3 separate regions of the Homo sapiens genome follow, and regions 1 and 2 are each linked to region 3. Evidence: promoter capture Hi-C in 16 types of primary human blood cells and fetal thymus (Javierre and others, 2016). All regions are on one chromosome and are shown on one strand. Each heading gives the region's core, a stretch centred on a gene start or on the middle of the fragment in contact. The rest is flanking DNA. Distances are from core to core; before and after follow the strand shown. Region 1 holds the start of WDPCP (WD repeat containing planar cell polarity effector). Region 2 holds the start of UGP2 (UDP-glucose pyrophosphorylase 2). Region 3 holds the start of ETAA1 (ETAA1 activator of ATR kinase).

What was found. The method cuts DNA at HindIII sites, captures the fragments that hold promoters and counts their contacts. A CHiCAGO score of 5 or more calls a contact.
Region 1: the fragment with the promoter of WDPCP here is called in contact with the fragment with the promoter of ETAA1 in region 3 in 1 of 17 cell types (monocytes); the score reaches 7.0 in monocytes.
Region 2: the fragment with the promoter of UGP2 here is called in contact with the fragment with the promoter of ETAA1 in region 3 in 1 of 17 cell types (monocytes); the score reaches 5.5 in monocytes.

Annotation. Positions count from the first base shown.
Region 1 is chr2:63,587,074-63,589,773 of GRCh38, reverse strand. It overlaps WDPCP (WD repeat containing planar cell polarity effector), which reads left to right and starts at 1,297. Exons shown (of 18, transcript NM_015910.7): 1 at 1,297-1,577. The coding sequence starts at 1,503. It overlaps MDH1 (malate dehydrogenase 1), which reads right to left and starts at 811. Exons shown (of 9, transcript NM_005917.4): 1 at 728-811. The coding sequence starts at 730. RefSeq lists enhancers at 781-1,100, 1,612-2,132. The HindIII fragment of the contact is 5,833 bases long and covers 1-2,118 here.
Region 2 is chr2:63,840,496-63,843,195 of GRCh38, reverse strand. It overlaps UGP2 (UDP-glucose pyrophosphorylase 2), which reads right to left and starts at 1,300. Exons shown (of 10, transcript NM_006759.4): 1 at 992-1,300. The coding sequence starts at 1,010. It also overlaps a transcript of WDPCP not described here. RefSeq lists enhancers at 1,194-1,243, 2,114-2,293 and a silencer at 1,344-1,653. The HindIII fragment of the contact is 3,639 bases long and covers 571-2,700 here.
Region 3 is chr2:67,396,026-67,398,725 of GRCh38, reverse strand. It overlaps ETAA1 (ETAA1 activator of ATR kinase), which reads right to left and starts at 1,393. Exons shown (of 6, transcript NM_019002.4): 1 at 1,055-1,393. The coding sequence starts at 1,277. The HindIII fragment of the contact is 4,361 bases long and covers 1-2,700 here.

The DNA.
Region 1 (2,700 bases), core at 48-2,547, 3.8 Mb after region 3:
CAGAGACAAGCGATGGAGATGCAGGTTACCCAGGTCTTCCATGACAAAATGGTTACTCTGTTACATTTAAGAGAGGTGCTTCTGGAATTCACAATATACAGTTCAATAAAGAATATTTGCAGTAGTTATTTAGTTAGTGATGCTGTCACTTCAATATATCCTGGCATTACAAAAAAGGTCAATGAACGGGTTCCAAATAACATTTTGAGAAATTAGATATGGCGGAAACACGTCTGCTGCAAACGCAGATCGTAATCTGGAGCACCTGGTAAATACTACCTTTCCAGCTTTTTGCTTTCAAGGTCCCTGTGACAAAAGCCGTTATAAACACTGTGGGCAAATGAGGAGAAAAAGGGGTTAGGACCCAACCTTTCCCTCCCATCGCAAACCTTATCGTCCTTATCAAACACCGTAACGTCCTTTGGAAAATAGCTGCAGCGTCGCATTTTGTCCTCCCGTCATGCAGCAGGATTAAGATCGCTCCTCTCCCAGGACAACTACTTCTCCAGAGTCCTCCTAAGAGCGCCCCATACCCCGCAAGGTGGAAATCAATCCCTTCCCATTACTGGGTCACTGCGGCAATCCCCAGAAGATGAGTCCGAGCTTGCCAAAGGGCGCGAAGGACAGTGCCTTGCACAGCTGCCTCCCAAAAGTCCCTAAAGTGCAAGAAACCCCACTCAAGGGCGCGAGGGCCAGAGGTGGGCAGGAACCCGGGGCCCACACTCACCATGATTGAAAACTGCGGGGACAATTTCAACAACTGCAAAATGAGCCTCAGAGAGTCAGGTCACCTCTACCGCGGAACTGACTCGGAGAGGGCGAGCGGTGTTAGCGAGAAAAGGCTCCGCTCCCGACGCGGCGCTCTCTGGGAACTGTAGTTTACGCTGCCCTGGTTGTGGCGCAATCTCCAAAGCATTTCCTTCAAGTGTTGAACTACACTTCCCGATACCAGAGGTTTTTTTCAAGCTCTTCTCACTGCGCTCTGCGCCGATTGCAAAGTAGTCCCTGAGGATGAGCCCCTGTGATTGGAGGACGACAACAAACGGATGGTTTGGGCTCAGGAGGAAAGGACCTGCCTGATGGAGCCCGGCAATTGGCGGGAGAGATAGCGTGTGTAACTCTAGGGAGGGGAGAATCACCCCTTAGCGACATCACCCCCACGCGCGTGACTGAGACTGCATCCTCCCATGAGGGTAAACGTGGGAGGTAAAGAGACCTTCCGCTGCGTAAAGCTGGATCGACCCGGAAACAAAATCTTTTAAAAAACGATTGACACTCTGGAGGGGCGGGGGAATTGATAAGTTGGGACGACCGGACAGCTTCTCAGGTTGCTAAGCGACGAGGCGGGAGCGCACGCACACCCTGGCTGCTTTGTAGCACCTGAGGAAACTGTGGCGGCGGCGGCGGCGTCCTGGAGACCCAAGAGACCAAGCGAGCGTGTCGCTCCCTCTCGGGTCCGAGGACCTAGCCTAGGAACCTTCTGCCCGGGGTAGTGTCTGGTGATGAGGCGAGAGTTTTGCTGGGACGCCTACTCCAAAGCGGCCGGGAGTCGCGCTTCTTCCCCACTCCCGAGACAGGTGAGCCCTGGCCCGAGGGCAAGGGGTTTTCTTTTAACCTTAGGATCCGGAATGCGGTTGGTGCGCCGTCCCGCTTTGCTTTTATCCGCTGTGCGGATGCCTGCAAGCTCGCCGGTCCCTTTTCTGAGCGGAGTATGAGGGCTGTGGGAATGCAGCTATTTTGGAGGGGGTGGTGCCCTGGAGTAGGTGCACCCCCGACCCCAAATGGAGCTCTTCCAGAGTTATATCAAAAATATTTATTGAGCATTTACTTTGTAGGAGGTGAGCCTCTCCCTTCCAGGAGGTCACAGTATACGGTTCTAATTTGCTCTAAGCCCTCCGTGAATGTTGAGTTTTGTCCATTCCCTTTTGGAAGAAACAGGATGCGCCTTAAACCATCTTGAGTCTTAAAGTTATGCCAAACAGGCATTTCTAAGGAAAGACTGGCGACTGAAGGGGAGACACTGGTTGTTTAGTCAGTCAGTCTCAGCTGGTAAAACAACTTAAGAGGTTCTCTTTAAAATTAATGCTGCCAAGAGAATTGCTGTGCTTTTTGAAAGCTTGTTTCTTGTGGATGTTAAAAGGAAGATATGATGCTCGGGAGTAGCATACACAGCATATACGTAATGAAAATGAATAAAACATCTCTATTAGATAACATTGTTAGAACTTCCGTTTTTTCTCTGTCACTGATAAATGAATGCCAAGTAATATCTTTCAATTTTTCTCTATTTCAGTTTGGAGGATTTGCTATTTTTGGAAAGAAATGTAATGCTTTACTTTTAGCATTTATTAATATCATACCTGAATGACTCTCCTTGTATCTCTTTATTCATTTGGCTCTCAGACAACATACTTTCCTGGTTTTCCTCTTTTGTTACTGGTTCTCAGTTCTGCGGAGTTTCTAAATTTTTTTTAGTTGTGATCTCTTAACATTGGGGTGCCTGTATTCTCTGTCTATACTAAATCCCTCAGTGAGCTAATTCATAAGTTGCATCACTTCAAATGCTACTTTTAATGTCAAAAACTCTCAAATTTATGTGTCTAGTCCTGAATTAGTAGGTGTGCATTATTCTCAAACCTAGGTTCTCTGAGTTTTACTTTTTACTCTGAGCAGTTACGAAAAATTTCTTCCATTATCCTC
Region 2 (2,700 bases), core at 51-2,550, 3.6 Mb after region 3:
TTAATAAAGCGATGTAGAACTCAGTAGGGCATTTTTATTCCCAGGGTCAAATGATGGCCATTACTGACACAACTTTTTTTTTCCAAAAGTACACCTACATTTATCAGGAAGCATAATAAGTGTTTGTGAACTTTACTAGCTGTGTGTTCATCAAGATGGCTGAAGCTTTCACACACTGGAGTCTACAAGGAAAGAGTTTACTTGCATACCAGAAGGCAAATCTCATGCTACAAACTGGTGTCAAAGGTTTATGCCAGCACCAATTTCAGTGAGTACACCGTACACACATGCATTCATATACACGTTACTGATAATCTCAGTTGAGGCATTCCCTAACCCTTTTTAAATACACATGTGGAATTTAGAGAGCAGTTTTCAAACTTCAAAGGAACCTTAATCATCTTTTCATAGTTCAAAAAAGGAAAAAATAAACACAGCAATGCAGCAAAGTCATTTCTCCAGCTGAAATGACCTCCAGCTTCTTCGGGCTACTCCCAGTTTCGCAATAAGTGAATCTGAGACGCAAACCACGTACACACAAACGAAGTAGAAGCGGAGAACACTAAAGCTTCCCCAACAGTCCCGGCAAAACCCACCCGGCTTTTCTCAGTCCTCCCGCTTCCCCAGCCCTTCCCGTCTGCGTGCACGCACAGGTACCTTGACACAGACCAGGAAAAGAGAACAAGGATTAATTAGCAGCCAAAAATCCTGTTTTATCACTTACAGCCACTATCCAGGAAAGCGACGGTACTACTAACCTGATTTCAGGGAGGCAAAACTAAACCCAGCAGGGTACAGGAGCATAAATTATACGCGTCTGGAACGTCAACCCAGCAGCTCAAGGCAGCTCAGATGACAATTCAACGAAAAGGGTTTCGCAAATGTTATCTCAAATGAACATTTCCACTTCCAAACCACCCACCAACCTCTCCACTGTCAGTACCCAAATTTGCCTGAAGCAACTCGGGATATAAGCAGCAGCATTTCTTACCTTGTACAAATCTCGACATTTTAGGGGCTTAGTAAAATACTCCGGCTTTTTTTTTTTTTTTCTAGAGGAGTCACGCTACAGGGCAGGTCTCTCTTCCTCTCCTGCTTTAACAACCGATGTATTCTTTCTCCTCCTATATTTAACTACTTAAGGGAGTATTTATTCAAAGCGATTAAAACTGGCTCAAGAAAAAAGAAAAGAAAGAAAGAAACTCCTTCCCCAATTCCAAAAGACGGAAACTTGGTGCGACTGAGTCGGTTTGGGAACTCCTGAGCTCCGGACACAAATGAGGGCCAGCTGGAGACTCCCGGAAAAGGTAAAACCACACGAACTTAAATTTCTTCAATGAAAGAGGCGGACCTACAGCGGCTATTTCACCGCCCCCAAGTCCCCACGCCCTCCAGGGCTGTACTGCAGGAGGCACTGGCAGGCCGCGCCCCTAGCTGCCCCCTCCCCGCGCCGCCGTCCAGGCCCCAAACGCCTCCCCCGAAAACCCCGGTTAACAGCGGCTCCCGCCCAAGCAGGGGTCGGGGAGGCGGGCGAGGCCGGCCAGCGGGGGCAGTGCAACCATTTTCACCAGCCATAAACATCCTGGGACTAGGAGGCGCTACCAATTCCACGCTCTGGCTGGCCGACCGGTCGGGGCCTCAGCTCCCCGCCTTCCCGCCTCGAGCAGTGAAACCCGGCCGCAGCTTTTTCTCGGTAGGGGCCGAAGGCTACGCTGCCCCTCCCCCGCAGCGGACACTAAGGGGTCACCGGCTAGAGGCAGACCCGTGCACCGGCGCGGGAGTCCCAAGGGAGGGCACCGACCCTTCCCGTACATATTCTCGCCCCGCCTGCCCTGCGCTCCTCAGAAGCCCAAATTCCGCCTCCGAGACCACACAGCGGGCCAGCGAGAGCGGGAAACACACTCATCCAGGGGGTCGCCGGAAGCCCAACCCCGCCCCTCCTCAAGCCGCCAGCGAGACCCACCTTCCTCTTCCTTTAGCAGCTGGGAAATTGGGGGCGTTTATGGCGCCCCGGGAAGAAGGCTCGCAGGCTGAAAGTCACCTCTGAGGCGCCCTTCTCTCTCTCTCTCTTCCCTCACACATGCACACCTTGAGCCCCTCCCTAACGGTCGCAGCCCAGCTGCTAACCCCCCCTTGTCCACCCGTCAGCCGGCTCCCGACACCCACAGCCCCTACTTTCTCCTAAACACCTCCCCTCCCCCTCCATTCGGAGCAGCCCCTTCAATGCGGAAATGTCCCTGCCGCACGGACCGACAGGCGCAGCCGCCAGTCAGGAGCCGAGGCGGACGCAGGCTCTGGCCAATGAGACGTGTGGAGGTGGCAAGGGGCGGGGCGTTGCGGCACTTGAGAGCCCGTCGGAGTTGGGCACTGAGCAGTACGCGGGGATACCGCGCGTGGGAGCAGCACTTACGGCGGCGTTGCGGCCAGGGAAGCCTCGCCAGTATATCTCAGTGAGGGAGAGCACCTGAGCACGACTGGTTATTTTTCCAATCAGTAAAAATATTCCCGCTGACTAGGGACTAAAGAAAGCCCTGCGGATAGAGCCGGAGCTCCCCACCGCAGCTGCCCCGAGGGAGCCCAGACGCTTCTCAGGGGACGCTTGCTCCCCTCATCACATCTGGTTGGGGGAGGGTGAGGATGCGTTAGGGAGTAGGCATTGGCCTGTGTGGGCCAGCTAACAAAAGGAGGGTTTAGGCATTG
Region 3 (2,700 bases), core at 144-2,643:
TTGGGAATTTTTGTCTAGAATCACTTTCAAATTTTTATAAAGATTTTTGTTCATTCCCAAATTGCTTTATAGGAGTATTATTAAAGACATGTAAGGTGGCCGGGCGCGGTGGCTGTAATCCCAGCACTTTGGGAGGCCGAGGCGGGTGGATCACGAGGTCAGGAAATCGAGACCATCCTGGCTAACACGGTGAAACCCCTGTCTCTACCAAAAATACAAAAAATTAGCCGGGCGAGGTGGCACACGCCTGTAGTCCCAGCTACTTGGGAGGCTGAGGCAGGAGAATCGCTTGAACCCGGGAGGCGGAGGTTGCAGTGAGCCGAGATTGTGCTACTGCACTGCAGCCTGGGCGACAGGGCGAGATTCTTTCCCAAAAGAAAAAAGACACGTAAGGTATAAAAAAAAAAAAAAAAAAAAAAGCACTATTTCAAGAACATGCTCCAGAATAAAGGCTTTTGTATGAGTTTCAGTTCCAACTAAGATTTACTAGAAGTCTTTTAAAAAGTAACACCTAAAACTAATCGAGACGAAAGAGATCCTTAGTATCTTATTTGGAGGGATGTTACACACAGGAACTTCCGGTTTATTCACAATGAGGTGAGACATCTACCAGGCTTTGAGACAAACTTTAACTTTTCCTATGAACTCTTCTCTAAAGCAGGTCACAGGGAAAAAAAGGGTTTAAAGAGAAATAACTTCTCCGGGCAAAAACTGAGGTTAGCGGGCCTATCAGCTGTTTCTTCTCACTCCACCACTGCTGCTGACTGGAGGAGCAGCCTGGAAAGCAGCCGCCCTCCCGCAAACAGGTAAACCACATTACCTATTCCTGTGGCGGAGGCAAATGGATGGTCAAACCTAACGGGGTAGTGCTGAAGTTCGGGGACAAAAGCCCATCGGGGAGTGGTATAGGATTATTTTTGGACTCTCGAGGGGTGAATCCCAGAGACAGAATACACGCTCCAGACTCCACCCCCACCCCAGATTTCCCTGTTGCAAGCTGGGATGTGGGGATGCGGCGCCGAAGCCAAGGCAGGCCGCGCTGCCGACGTCTCACCCTCGGGGTTACTTTTACTGCACAGGGCGGCGGTCGGAGGCTGCTCTCGCTGCCGCACTGGCCCGGGAGGCCCCTCTCTAGCCCCGCAGGGCCACGAACCGCGGGCCGATCTCAGCCGCCTCCTCCCTGGCTCGACCACCGAGCCGCATTCCTCCGCCGCCACTGTTTTGTGCGGCGTTTTCTTCGGGCTAGGGCTGTCATCATGTTTCCTTCGCCGACTCATTGCCTATGGCCCGCCTCCACCAGCCGCTTCTTCTTTCACATTTTGCAAAGGGATGAGTAGGGCAACAGCACTACAAACCGCACCCCGCACCAACGGCAGCCGCCATTTTGGTCGGTGGGGCGCGCGCAAGAGGCGGCCGCTGATTGGCTGGGTCCGGGAGAGGGGCGGAACTGTTAAGGTGCCGAGGGCGCGCGCACTTCCGCAGCCGGGACAGGAGCCTGCTCTGGAGGAGTGTCTAGGCTCAAAATCCTCCAGACTGGTGGGGGTTGTTCGGGTAGTAGTCAGGTCCGCGTAAACTGAGAGTGGGAGCTTGTGAGTTGGAAAGATTGAATACACTAGCAACTTTTTATTGAATTTACAACGAAAATTGCACGTTAGTCAAATTCAGATTATTGAGAGTCTTCGAATTTCTCAAGAAGAGGAAATACAGTTAATTTTTCATAGATGCTATGTGCATAGAAAAATCCAAAAGAAAGTAGAAAAAATTACTAAATTAATTTAAGAGTTGCTGGATACAAAGTCAATATTCAAAGATCAATGTGTTTCAATAGATTAGCAACAGATATAAAATTGAAGTTTTAAAGAGATACTATTTATAATAGTGCATGAGATAGCAAGTAACTAGGAATAAGTTAAAGATTGTCCTTCCTACAAAGAGAACTATAAAACATTTTTGAGGCCGGGCGCCATGGCTCAAGCCTGTAATCTCAGCACTTTGGGAGGCCGAGGCAGGCGGATCACGAGGTCAGGAGTTCAAGACCAGCCTGACCAGCATGGTGAAACCCCGTCTCTACTAAAAATACAAAAAATTAGCCGGGCATGGTGGTGCGTGCCTGTAGTCCCGGCTACTGGGGAGGCCAAGGCAGGAGAATTGCTTGAACCTGGGAGGCGGAGGTTGCAATGAGCCGAGATTGCGCCACTGCACTTGCAGTGAGCAGAGATCGCGCATCTGCATTCCAGCCTGGGCGACAGAGGGGGACTTCGTGTAAAATAAGTAAATACATACATACATACATACATACAAAAATTAGCCAGGCGTGGTGGCGGGTGCCTGTAATCCCAGCTACTTGGGAGCTGAGGCAGAGAATTGCTTGAACCTGGGAGGTGGAGGTTGCAGTGAGCCGAGATTGCGCCACTGCACTCCAGCCTGGGCAACAGAGCAAGACTCCGTCTCAAAAAAAAAAAAAATTTTTTTTTTGAAAGAAAACGAAGACCTAAATAAATGGTTACACTATGTTCATGGGTTGTGAGACTCAATATTGTTACAATGTCAGCTATTTCCAAACTGACCTATAGATTCAACATAAATACATATGAAGGCCCAGTGTGTGACTGTGTGTGTGTAACATGGTAAGTTTTTTCTAAAATTTATATGAAAATGCAAGGGACCAAAAATATCAATAAACTCTTGAAGATCTCTCGA